Linked DNA regions of Homo sapiens: regions 1 and 2 are each linked to region 3. The links are contacts of gene promoters, found by promoter capture Hi-C in blood cells and fetal thymus (Javierre and others, 2016). All regions are on one chromosome and are shown on one strand. The core of a region is centred on a gene start or on the middle of the fragment in contact, and the rest is flanking DNA. Distances in the headings are between cores, read along the strand shown.

What was found. The method cuts DNA at HindIII sites, captures the fragments that hold promoters and counts their contacts. A CHiCAGO score of 5 or more calls a contact.
Region 1: a contact is called between a fragment that was not itself captured here and the fragment with the promoter of ZSWIM2 in region 3, in 1 of 17 cell types (monocytes). The highest score is 5.7, in monocytes.
Region 2: a fragment that was not itself captured here is called in contact with the fragment with the promoter of ZSWIM2 in region 3 in 5 of 17 cell types (monocytes, M2 macrophages, M0 macrophages and 2 more); the score reaches 5.5 in monocytes.

Annotation. Positions count from the first base shown.
Region 1 is chr2:187,361,680-187,365,189 of GRCh38, forward strand. CALCRL (calcitonin receptor like receptor) reads right to left here. Exons shown (of 15, transcript NM_005795.6): 9 at 1,697-1,823. The region is part of intron 2 of CALCRL-AS1 (CALCRL and TFPI antisense RNA 1); the gene reads left to right. Among named protein-coding and RNA genes, the nearest start is that of CALCRL, 85 kb to the right of the region's middle. The HindIII fragment of the contact is 4,390 bases long and covers 1-3,510 here.
Region 2 is chr2:187,392,629-187,396,381 of GRCh38, forward strand. The region is part of intron 1 of CALCRL (calcitonin receptor like receptor); the gene reads right to left. The region is part of intron 2 of CALCRL-AS1 (CALCRL and TFPI antisense RNA 1); the gene reads left to right. Among named protein-coding and RNA genes, the nearest start is that of CALCRL, 54 kb to the right of the region's middle. The HindIII fragment of the contact is 2,440 bases long and covers 359-2,798 here.
Region 3 is chr2:186,847,003-186,851,076 of GRCh38, forward strand. ZSWIM2 (zinc finger SWIM-type containing 2) reads right to left here and starts at 2,168. Exons shown (of 9, transcript NM_182521.3): 1 at 1,964-2,168; 2 at 717-793. The coding sequence starts at 2,128. The HindIII fragment of the contact is 8,021 bases long and covers 1-4,074 here.

The sequences.
Region 1 (3,510 bases), core at 712-3,211, 510 kb after region 3:
TCTTAACGGTAGTCCTATGAGGTGTACATTATCATAGGCATATATTTTATAGATAAAAAAACTTAGTACCAGAGAAGTTAAATGATTTGCTAATATTTATACATCAATCAAATCTACAACCTGAACATTCCAATTTTGTTTTCATTATATACGATGCCTCCTAACTAAAGGATATTTGTAAAACCTATTTATTCATTAAATGTATCTGCAGAATACGTAACATTAAATTTTAAATAATGTACCTGTATGTAAAACACAGCATTATATTAAAGTTCACTCAAAGGTGAAAATGAGATAGTCTACTATATGGAGAGAAATCATAAATTTCAGCTTCAACTTTTTATCTAAAGAGTTTTTAAGTATTTATATTTAATTCGGCTTCTAATTCTTGATTTCATTAAAAAAGTTAATCGATAAACCATTACAATAAAAAAGAATTAAGAGCATACTGCAGAAAAATATTTCTATGCAGGGCATTAGTAACAGAGACAAAACAAAAATATATGACAATTTATAATGTGTTTATTAAACACATCTTTGCGTACAAATATGAGATTTAGAATCTCATGCTCTGCAGCTTCAAGACAAAACTCTGAATCTCCTTGTCTTACAGAAATTCACTCTAAAATGGCAGGACATTAGCCAGATTTTTATGTTGCTAATTATACCCCAGTGTGTTTTCTAATCCAATGACTTTAGAGTGGAACATATACAAGATTAAGCAATCTGGATGCACAGGTGCAAACAATGCAGGGACTTTTAGAATTTTGAAAATTACTCTAAAAACACACATAAAACACACATGAGACTGTTTATTGACCCACTTGGTAAAAATTCTTTCCCTTCCTGATTTCAGTCACTAGATAATTTTTTCTTTTAAAAAACACTTTATATAGACACACACACACACAAAATATAGTAAATATCCCATAAACATTATAAAAGCAGATAATTTTTAAAATTTGAATGTATGTTTATGTATGCAGATATTTTAATTTAAACATTTTACATATGCATATAGCTTACACAAAATATTTACATTTAGATAAGTAAATTTTAAACTGTTTGAAAAATATGGCCTGTAAGGCAACAATTTATAAATATTTATTGAGACTGAACACTGTAGTTTTTAAAACATTATGCTATGAAGTTTAATCTTATGTAGGATATGTACAATTCATTCTTTTCCTGGTTTTATTGACTTTTTAAAGTCAGCCTGATACAAAAAATATAATTTATTTAAATTTTCCATGTGCGTGTACTATTTTTCGAATTACGCAGAGTTCATTGCTTTGAGTTTTTCATTTGGATTGAATAAATATTATGTAGTGATAAACTATTATGTGCCATAGCAAGAGGACTCTACAGCTATAAAATGAAGTGAAGATATGTGTACATGTATAAATAATTGAAGCAAAGAAATTATTACACTTTTTTATGTTCACTCTGTATCTTGGGGAATACTGAGAATACTCTGAGGGAATACTCTGTAGAGTATATGTAGCTATATTCCAATGTAGAAAGGTAAATATTTCTCAATATTCCCCAAGATATAAAGACTTGAAAATATATATATATGTCAGACTTGAAAATATACATATATGTGTACTTAATTATACACATTATGCATATATCAGCCATGTTCCCCCTTTCCCATTAGGCCCTTGAACCAAGGGCACAATCTTGGTTTACTTACAGGATTTGTGGCTACTAAGGCCTGGTTGTTGGCCACTGCAGTGAGGTGAATGATTGTTACAACAGAGTTACAAACAAATGAGAAGAACAGATTTTTGTGTAAGGTAATCCTTTGGCAACTTAGGCTCCTAAAAAGCAAGAAAAACAAGTGTGTTGACATCATGAAATGTTTTTTTATTAATCATTATTCAAATAAGATACATTCCCAATTCATAGCAGCTGATCCACTTTTGAAACAATTATTTTTTCTCCCTAAGATCCACTCATTACAAAAATCTTAATTAGGGAAAACCTGTAAGTGCTTAAAACCTAGAGACAAATGAGTTGCTCCAGAAGAGGTAGATATACATAGGGATAGAAAATTTGCCTGTACAAGTCCTCTACATGACTTTCTCTATTAATTTCTGAACATAATTAATAGTTTAATTCATTTTGCAAACATTGGGATTCAGTTAAGTTAGATAATTGATCAAAACTCCTGCAGCTAATTAATTTGAACACTTTGTATTTGCTGTCAGATTCTCATGTGGATAACTTTTTTCATTACACCATATATATTGTTCTGTTTAAATAAAACTGTGTGTTTTGTTGTGATGGTGGTGATTACACAGACCGATCTGGAAAAAATAACAAAGTACTCAGAATAGATGAATTGATAAAAATGTAAATTTAGCAACCAATGAGATTTGCACAGCTTTACTGAATTTTTCTAATTGGTGCAGCCATATATAAGGTAAAAATAGTACCACCTTTTACTAGAGTTCCTCTTGTATAAAACAAAAGAGAGTTCACTGTGTGGAGTTCACATAGAAGTAGATTTCAAGAAAAAGTGTCACTAATGATAACTGATGTCACTCTTAGATTGAATCCACCTCCACTCTAAGAAGATTGTGCATATATGACTGCCTGCCCGTGTTCAAGCGCTACTTCCTTTATAATGCATTTACTCAAAGGCTTATTATGGATAAAGTTTTAAAATAGTAGTATGGGATCCACTTGAACCTGAATACTTAATGTCAAGTGTGAACTCATATGAAGGAAGACCTGAGGAATTATTTCACTACAGAGGCAAAAAATTTCATGATGTGTGTGTGTGTTTTTTTTTTAAATATGCTATTAATATGGTCAACCTATATAATCCACCATATATAATTCAAGCCAAAGGCTTCTATTTTGGAAACTTTAAGGAGATCTTTACCTAATTTTATCACTAAATCTCTTTATCTTAAATAGACTGTGTGCCCAGGATATTGGAATTAGGGTGGGATGCCACGGTTTTCTATATTTAAAAATTCAGTTTAGAGTATATTGCCTCTGAAATTACCTTTCTTCCAGCCACAGGTCTGTGATTCTATATATAGCTCTAGTAATTAAAGAGCCTGGAGGCATATTTGATCCAAATCAATATTATAAATTGTCAATATATTCCTTCTACAAGACTTCTATGAAGGGATTCATGGGCAAGATGGCTCTTGGAATGATTGCTGAGTGTGTGTAAGACATTCATATGCCAACAAATAAGTGAAATCCAGCTGGAATCCATCAAAATAGAAACAACTGGAACCAGCTAGTATTTTCATATTAAAGAGTGGTTTACTTTGGCTTGACTTTGTAGTGTATAGGAGTAGTGACGCAGACAGTAATCAGGGCTTATCTACAGGTTATTGATTATATTCTATAGAAAAAAAGAATCTTTGAAACTTTTGAACAAAGGAGTGGCATGATTCCTGCTATTACTTAGAGAAATTCAACACTAAGAGAAAGACAATCGTATTTTTGATAAAATGCCACAGCAGTGACATAATTACTTTCTGT
Region 2 (3,753 bases), core at 329-2,828, 550 kb after region 3:
TTTTGGAAAACCTAAGTCTTTGTGCTAGAATTGTTGTTGCAAGTTAATATCTTTACTTCCAATAGAGTCTTTTTATTATTTATTATTATTTTTTTAGAGACAGGATGTCACTCTGCCCCAGCTGAAGTGCAGTGGTACAATCATAGCTCACTGGTGCCTTGAACTCCTAGTCTCAAGTAATCCTCTCACTTTGGTTCCCCGAATTGTTGGGATTACAGGCTTGAGCTCCTGCACCTGGCCTCCAATAAAGTATGAAAAAGAAATTCCAGTGTAAGGTTTTAGTGCCCACTTCAACCTAGCTTGGAATGTCACTCACACTTTTAATATATAAAGCAGTTAGTGAAACAAAACATAAAGAAGCTTTACTTTCCTGAAGACATGTTACGGATATAAGATTATAACTCAAGCTGTATGTCCTCTTTAGGATGTCATTTGAGTCATGCATTATTTTTTAAGCTATTGAGTGAGCAGGTGCCAAATCACTGATGTAGTAAACACCATGTCCTCAAAGTGTGAGGTTGTGGGCCACCTGCATCAGAATCACCCCCAAAACTTGGTGAAAATGTTAAAATGGCCAGGCCCCACAAAGGACGCTCTGGAACAGAACCTTTTGGAGAAGAATTTAGGAACCTGCATGTTTAGTAAGCACCCAAGTAAATTCTTGGCCTGTTATACTTGGGGAAGCACAATATAAATACTTCATCCTCACTGGGACATGCCGAAACCTGAACACATTTGTATTTCACTGTTTCTAGTTACTAGCCAGACTATTTTAAAAGCAACTATAAAGTATAAATCAAGCAAAATATTCTGCAGTGTTCCCAGGCATTATTAATGTCACAGAACTCCCAAAGCAAGTTATTCAAATATCTATTTTAAAACATACCATGTAATCTTATAATTATTTCTTTATGTGTCTCTGCCATGAGATTGTGAGCACAGTAAGAATAGGGCAGGCAGCATATTCATCTCCGGGGCTACACACCCTAACAAAGTGATCACATAAAGAGGGTATACAGAAAGTGTTTTTAAAGTAGATTGCTTATGAAATAAATTTAATCAAGTTGAAGAAACCTGATGTTTTTAGTTATTCCTAACCCTTTCAAGCCTATTATAATTTTCTGAGTCATAAAAAAAGATCATTGCCTCGATTCTACTCCAAAAATTTCTGATTCAGGTCATCTTGCTTGGGGACCAGGAACAAGCATTTTTTCAAGTTTCCCAGGTGATTTTAATATATAGCTAGGGTTGAGGATACCTGGAATAGATAGAAGATTCATGTGGTAGGCAGAATGATAGGCATACAAAACTTTCCATGCCCTATTCACCAGAATCTTTGATTACAGCTATGATTTAGGTTATGGATCTTAAAATAGAATGATTGACCTAGGTTATCTTGAGTTATCCAGGTTAGTTGCAAATAATAAATTGAGCTCTTAAAAGAAGAAAAGAAAGGGTGAAGGGTCAAAGAGATGCAGCACAAGGGGAAGCAGAAAAGATGAAAGCCTGAGAAAGAGTTGATTCCTTGTTGCTGACTCTGCTGTGGAGCCCACATGCAAGGACTAGAAAGTGGCCTCAAGCCAGCAAGGAAATGGGGACTTCAGTCCTACAACCACAAGGAATTGAATTCTGCCAACAACCTGAATGAGTATGGAGGCAGGTTCTCCCCCAGAGTCTACAAAAGGGAATGCAGCCCTGCCATTACTTTTATTTTGACCATGTAACACTTGAAACAAAGAAACAAGCCAAGGCAACAGAACTGACCAATAGAACTGTGAGATAGATAGTAAATAAATGTTGTTTTAAGTTACTAAATTTATGGTCATTTGGTACAGCTAGGATAGAAAACTAATAAAAATCCTTACCTGACAAAAATTACATTTTTTTCCATCAAACCAAAGTAGTAACTCTGCTTCCCAACTAGCCAGTCATTCCTCTTAACCTTAACAATACATTCATCCTCCTGCAAGACAATCCCATTAGCTAGAAGTGTTTCTTCTAAGCTGCTTCTAAATTGCTGTGTAATTTTAAGAAAATCAACTCAACTATTTTCTGCTTGGTTTACTCAACTAGATAATGAGTATAAAACTTGATCGTTAATTGAGCTTCCTGTTTTCTGTTGCATACTTATTAGAAGACACACACTAAAGTCAAAGAAACATATCTTTAATGCCAGTTCTTATACACTTAAACTCTCTCAACCGATTTTCTAACCTGAAAATTTGCATAAAAGTAGTGGCTGTTTTTAGAAGGTTAATGTGACCAGTAAATGAGATAATGCTAATCAATGCCTGGCTAAATCAATGTTGCCTATAACTTTTATCATAGCTCACCTTGTCGGATTATTTTAAGTGTTAAATTACATGCTAGATATAAAAAACTTGCTTAATAATAAATACACAATAAGCATTAGCTATTGCTATTTTCTGTATCCCTCTATAATTCTGTTAGTCATGGCAGTAATCATGTTGACTGAACAAACCAGGCAAATCCAGCATGCAAATTGTGACTTGGCCAAAGTCACAAAGATGCTTAGGTCTGACTCCAAGCTCAGAACTCAGGTTTTCTGACCTTAAATTTCTACCCTTTGCCCTGTATCATACTGACTCGGACAATGGAGTTGTTTATTTGCATAAAGTGAAGGACACATTTCTATTTTGCTTATTCAGTTATTTTGCTTAACCACCAGTTTTCTCATTACATGTCACTTGTACTCATCAAACACATTTATACTTTTTCCCAACAATTTCTTCTTTTCATTCCTCTTCTTAGCAATGTCATATTCGATTCTTTTACAAAGCTTACATTAATAAATGGCTTGACAACTCATACTTGCCATTCTGGCAAGGTCCCAAAATAAAAACACATGTACTGTCTCGTTTTCTAGCACTTTAAAAAATGCGTTTTAAATGAAGAAAACTTCTTCTAGAAATTAAATTTGTTACCTTACCCTATTTATTGAGCATCTACTTTTACCTAGTTTGGTAGGGTGAAGGTGGTGAGATATGTTAAGATTTCTGCCCTCAATAAAAGTATTTATCAAGTTGAAGAACAGTATTCTACTGCTTTTGAGGCTTACTTCATTGATTTCAAACACTCTCCATGGAACTCATTCATGAGGTTCTAGCGAGGGATGATTTTATCAACATTTAAAACAGGAAGTTAGTGTCTTCCTCAGTCCCATCTCTGTCATTCATTGAACCTGGGCAAATTCCATGCCTTCCCAGGTGTTTCCTACTCATCAAACAAAGCATTAGGGTAAAAGGATTAAGCCTTGGGTAAGAGTTCAAAATTTATATGAAAAGAAAAAAATGATTGTTATACAGAAACAGTTTTTACTCCTAGTAACCTAAAGCCAAAATAGCCTTAAAACCAAATCTCTCCTGACACTGTTTGTTGTTGTTGTTGTTGTTGTTGTTGTTGTTTTTCCTGTGGCTCAGGAAGACTTTGTGTATGTCTCCTACTACCTAATAGCTCACGGGAAAAAGTGGACCATTTGGCTAATTTTTCTCTCATTACATGAGAATTCAGGGAAAACATATCTAGGCCAAAAAAAATAAATAAATAAAGAAAAAAATCACTTATCTTGCTCTCACCTCTTCATATACTGCCTCTTTTGAGCTATTCTTACTTTTGAAAGGCCATTCAAGAAACGTCTAGTTCTCTCTTCTCCACTGCAGAAAGTCCAAATTAGAAAAGCAAGCACACTTCTTCATTAGCCCCCTTTCCAGATGTCTCAGAATGGAATCTGGT
Region 3 (4,074 bases), core at 918-3,417:
TAAGACATCAGAGACTACAAAAACTGGGAGGGTGGGAAGGGAGTAAGGCTGAAAAATCACTTATTGGGTACAATGTTCACTATTGGGGTGATTAGTACACTATAAGTCCAGACTTCACCACTATGCAATATATGCATGTAAGAAACCTGAACTTTTTATAAAAAATAAATAACCTGAACTATTTATAAAAATACATGAAAATTTAAAGTGATTCATAGTCAAATGTTAACTGAAAAGGAAAATATTTTGAAACTTGACTGCCATAGGCCAATACGGAAAAGGTGAACACTTTCAACCTATGTATACATGTAGAAAATGGAACATTTGATATTCAAGAAAACGTGATTTTGGAAACACAATTTGTGGAAGCACAGCAATATCTCAAATGAACCATATAATTATCAGCAGTGATGGGATCAGGATTTTTCCCCCGTTTTATAGTTAGATTTCACATTTGTACATGAGAATCTAAAATTGATTTTTTCTATTTAAAAGCATTAACATTATAAAATGGTTCTCAATTTAAATGTTATTCAATTTTCAGAATAAAATGAAATACTGAAAAATTTATTGGTAAGCTATGACCATTTTAACTTTATATTCCCCAAACACCAAATTTCTTTAATTTTGTTGTTATTGAAACCATGACAAAGGCAAAATATTTAACACACCAAGATGTTCCTTCATGGAAGATCTTCATTTGAAAAGTCACTTACCAGCAGATATGCTTACAAAGTTCCCCTCCTTTCGGAAATGTGGAACAGTTACAAACGTGAGGATTTCCTAGAAAAACCTTTAAAGGAAAAATGCATACTTAAAAAGACCAGTAAAATTTGAGAGTTAGAGCAAAACTGAGTTAATAAAAGAGATTTGAAGAGGTAATTTAGTTTAGGTGATTCAAAAAGGTTGAATAGATTCTACTGGAGAATCTTAATTCTTGATACTAGTCTCTAGGCTTCATTATTTATCTTTGTTAGCAAATTAACAAATTAGGATGGTTTTAAAGTGACCTGCCCTTAGGCAGGTGAAAATAAATCTAATTCCCAAAGTCAGAGAAGAAAAAAAGCAAATATCAACCCATAAATTCCTCACAGTAAGGAAATTCTACTTTGGGGTGGAGCTAAGCACCTTTTGTAAGGTAGCTCATTTTGGATTTTTGTTTGGTGCATTTGAGTCGGTGAATTTATTTAATTTTATTCAAGAGGACAAAATTTATTCACCAAGACTAGTTTGGCTAAAACTATTAAATACAGTAAGTATTGAAGCAACAAAGTAAAAAAAGATGCTTTAAATAAGCACAGACTAGTAAATTGCATTCAATTCTTAAACTTCACGGCACTAACGTAAAATTTTGTAAGTCAACTCCTAGGAGGTAGTGCAGTGGCTAATTTTTGAGTGGTTAAGGATGGGATATGCAATTATGAAATATCTGTGGTCTTTCAGTAAACTTGAATTTTTATTCATTAATATCTTTCCAAGGTATTGCCATTTAAACCATCCTTTAATAGGGCCTTCATACAGTTTCAGAGTGAGCAAAGAGTAAAGGGAAACCTATTTATTTATTTAGAAAATATTTACAGTATGCTAGCAGATTGTAGAATTTTCATTTCGTTTGATTTACAGGACTAAGGACCACTAACAACAGATCCAAGAACACATGTAATGCCAACCAGGTATTCATACGCCTCTGACATTTTCAAGCCTAAAGATCAAGAGCCATCATCTTTTACAAGAGTTGCAGTTTGGTCTTAACCTCCAAAAAAGAAACTTCTAATAAATACTATTTCCTTCTGTAATTTCACGTATTTTAGAGTCTGGAACACTCGTGGGAAGGCGCTTTCGGGGGTGAGGCAGCAAGTATCCGCAGAGATTGTGATGGTGGCTACGCACATTGGGTATGCCAGTGGGGGAACCTGGTGGGCGGGGATGATGGCCAACTGGGGGCGGTAGGGGCGGTAGTTACTCGGAAATCCATGTATTCCGGCTCCTCCTCCCTCAGCAGGAAGCCAGTGGGGCCCATCTCTCGTAGGAGGTAGATGCTGCTACTCAGCGCCTGGTCTTGGTGCCAGCTGAGCCTCTCGCTCAAGTGTCTTCGCCTTTCAGAGGCCTTATAGCCTCGGCGAAGCATGCTGGGTGCGGGCGGAGGCGGCCCCTCTGCTCGGCTCACTGAGGCGCCAGCCGGTCTCCAAGACGACGGCGTGCAGGCTGGTTGCCTTGGTGACGGTGGTTGGGCTCGGGGTGTCCCGGTGTGCCCTGCGCCGAAGAAGAGCGGGCGACAAAGGTGCGGGATGGCATGGATTCTGCAACTCTCCCCAGCCTCCACTGCGTTTCGAAGCGACGCCCTTGACTGAGGAGTGTTTTTAATAATCATCTGGCCGACTTGGAAGCTGGAGGCCGAAGGCATAGCTGTCAATTTTCTTGCGTTCCTTCTGCTTCCTCGGGGCAGAGATGGTGAAATCTACTTGTTAGGACAGTTGCAAACCCGATTGCAGTCTGGGCTCTGGATGCTGAAATTATCCTGTGATGATTCATCATCTTTAACAGAAAGCCGAGGTTACAGAGCCCAGAGTGATTTTTGACGTTCCACAATATTCCACGAACATTTTCTGATTGCTCACTATATGCATAGATTGACTGAGTCTCTGGGGGAAAGATGTAGAAGACAGGAGTTCTAAACCCTAGGAAGTGCATCACCGGTAGTGGCGCCGGCTGTAGTCCCAGCTACTTGGGAGGAAACCAGATCCTTAAGTCATTTCTCTCTGCCTCTCTCTCTCTCTCTCTCTCTCTCTCTCTCTCTCTCTGTGTGTGTGTGTGTGTGTGTGTGTGTTGGAGGGGAAATGGTCTTCCAAGTGAGGGAACATTTTTTAATTGCATGTTTGGGTAGGGGTGGGTGTTGGGGATGGTACAGCCAGAATGGTGGATGGTGGTACGTCCTGAATGGTGGCACAGAATCCATTGACTATGGGTACATGAAACTTACAAATCTGTATACTAAGGAATAAGAGTTTCAAGGTATGCAATGTTTGTACCTCCAATAATTTAAATTGTCTCTGAGGTTTGTTTACCACATTTTAGGGGGAAAACTGTAATAAAGTATGGGTCAACATTTTGAGTCATAATTACTGAAAAAAGAAGCCACATTACTAGAATCTCTATAGGAAATTAAAAGCAGGAGATAGCACTACTTGGAGGTCCAGTAACCTTTGCCTTGGTGGCCAAAGATAGAGCATATTTGTCCTATTTTATCATGGGCAGAAATCATAACTAGATTATGTCAACAGCAGGAGAGTTCTCAGAAAATGGCAAGGGCAAAAGATGAAAGAAGATGATGGTAATGGCAGCTTTCACAGGTGAGACACCTGGATAAACATCATCCAACCCTTAAAGTCTTAGGTCTAAGGTCTAAGGTTTTAATTTACTAAATTTTATTTTTATTCTCCTATTCTGACTAATAACAACTCACATTCATACTACCATACTCCCAACTTTAGAATCAATTTAATGGTACTAGATGTTAAAGAAATACATTATAACATTAGAAAAAAACTCACATATCAAGAGCAAAAGAAATTATAAATTGGATTAAATTATTTTACATATTGATATGTATAATTTTAAAAACTCAATAAATTAATGACTCCATATTTGCTATATAATATGATGAGTTGGGCTTCAGAGTGAGGACATTTTATTCAACCATCAATTTTTTTTCTCTCTCTCTTTATATACATGTGTGTACATATAAAATAAAGTTATAAAATTTTTAAAAGCAAACAGCAAAAATTGTTAAAGCTGTTGTGTTTTAGTTATAGCTAGTGATACTTGTTTACTTGCTCCATGTATAAGTGATAAACATTTTCAAAGGGTCGCATGTTTAAGACACAATAGTCATTATATCAATGGAATATAGGTTCATAAATTCCATTTTGGGGGATGGTAAAAATAATGGTGTTTATGCTTTCATAGAAGTTAAAAAGTGAAAGCACAGATTGCTAGACAGAACTTCATTCTATTTGTAAGATATTTGTTTTGATATCTGTCAGTTATGACTTTAAAAACATTTTTATAGTCAGG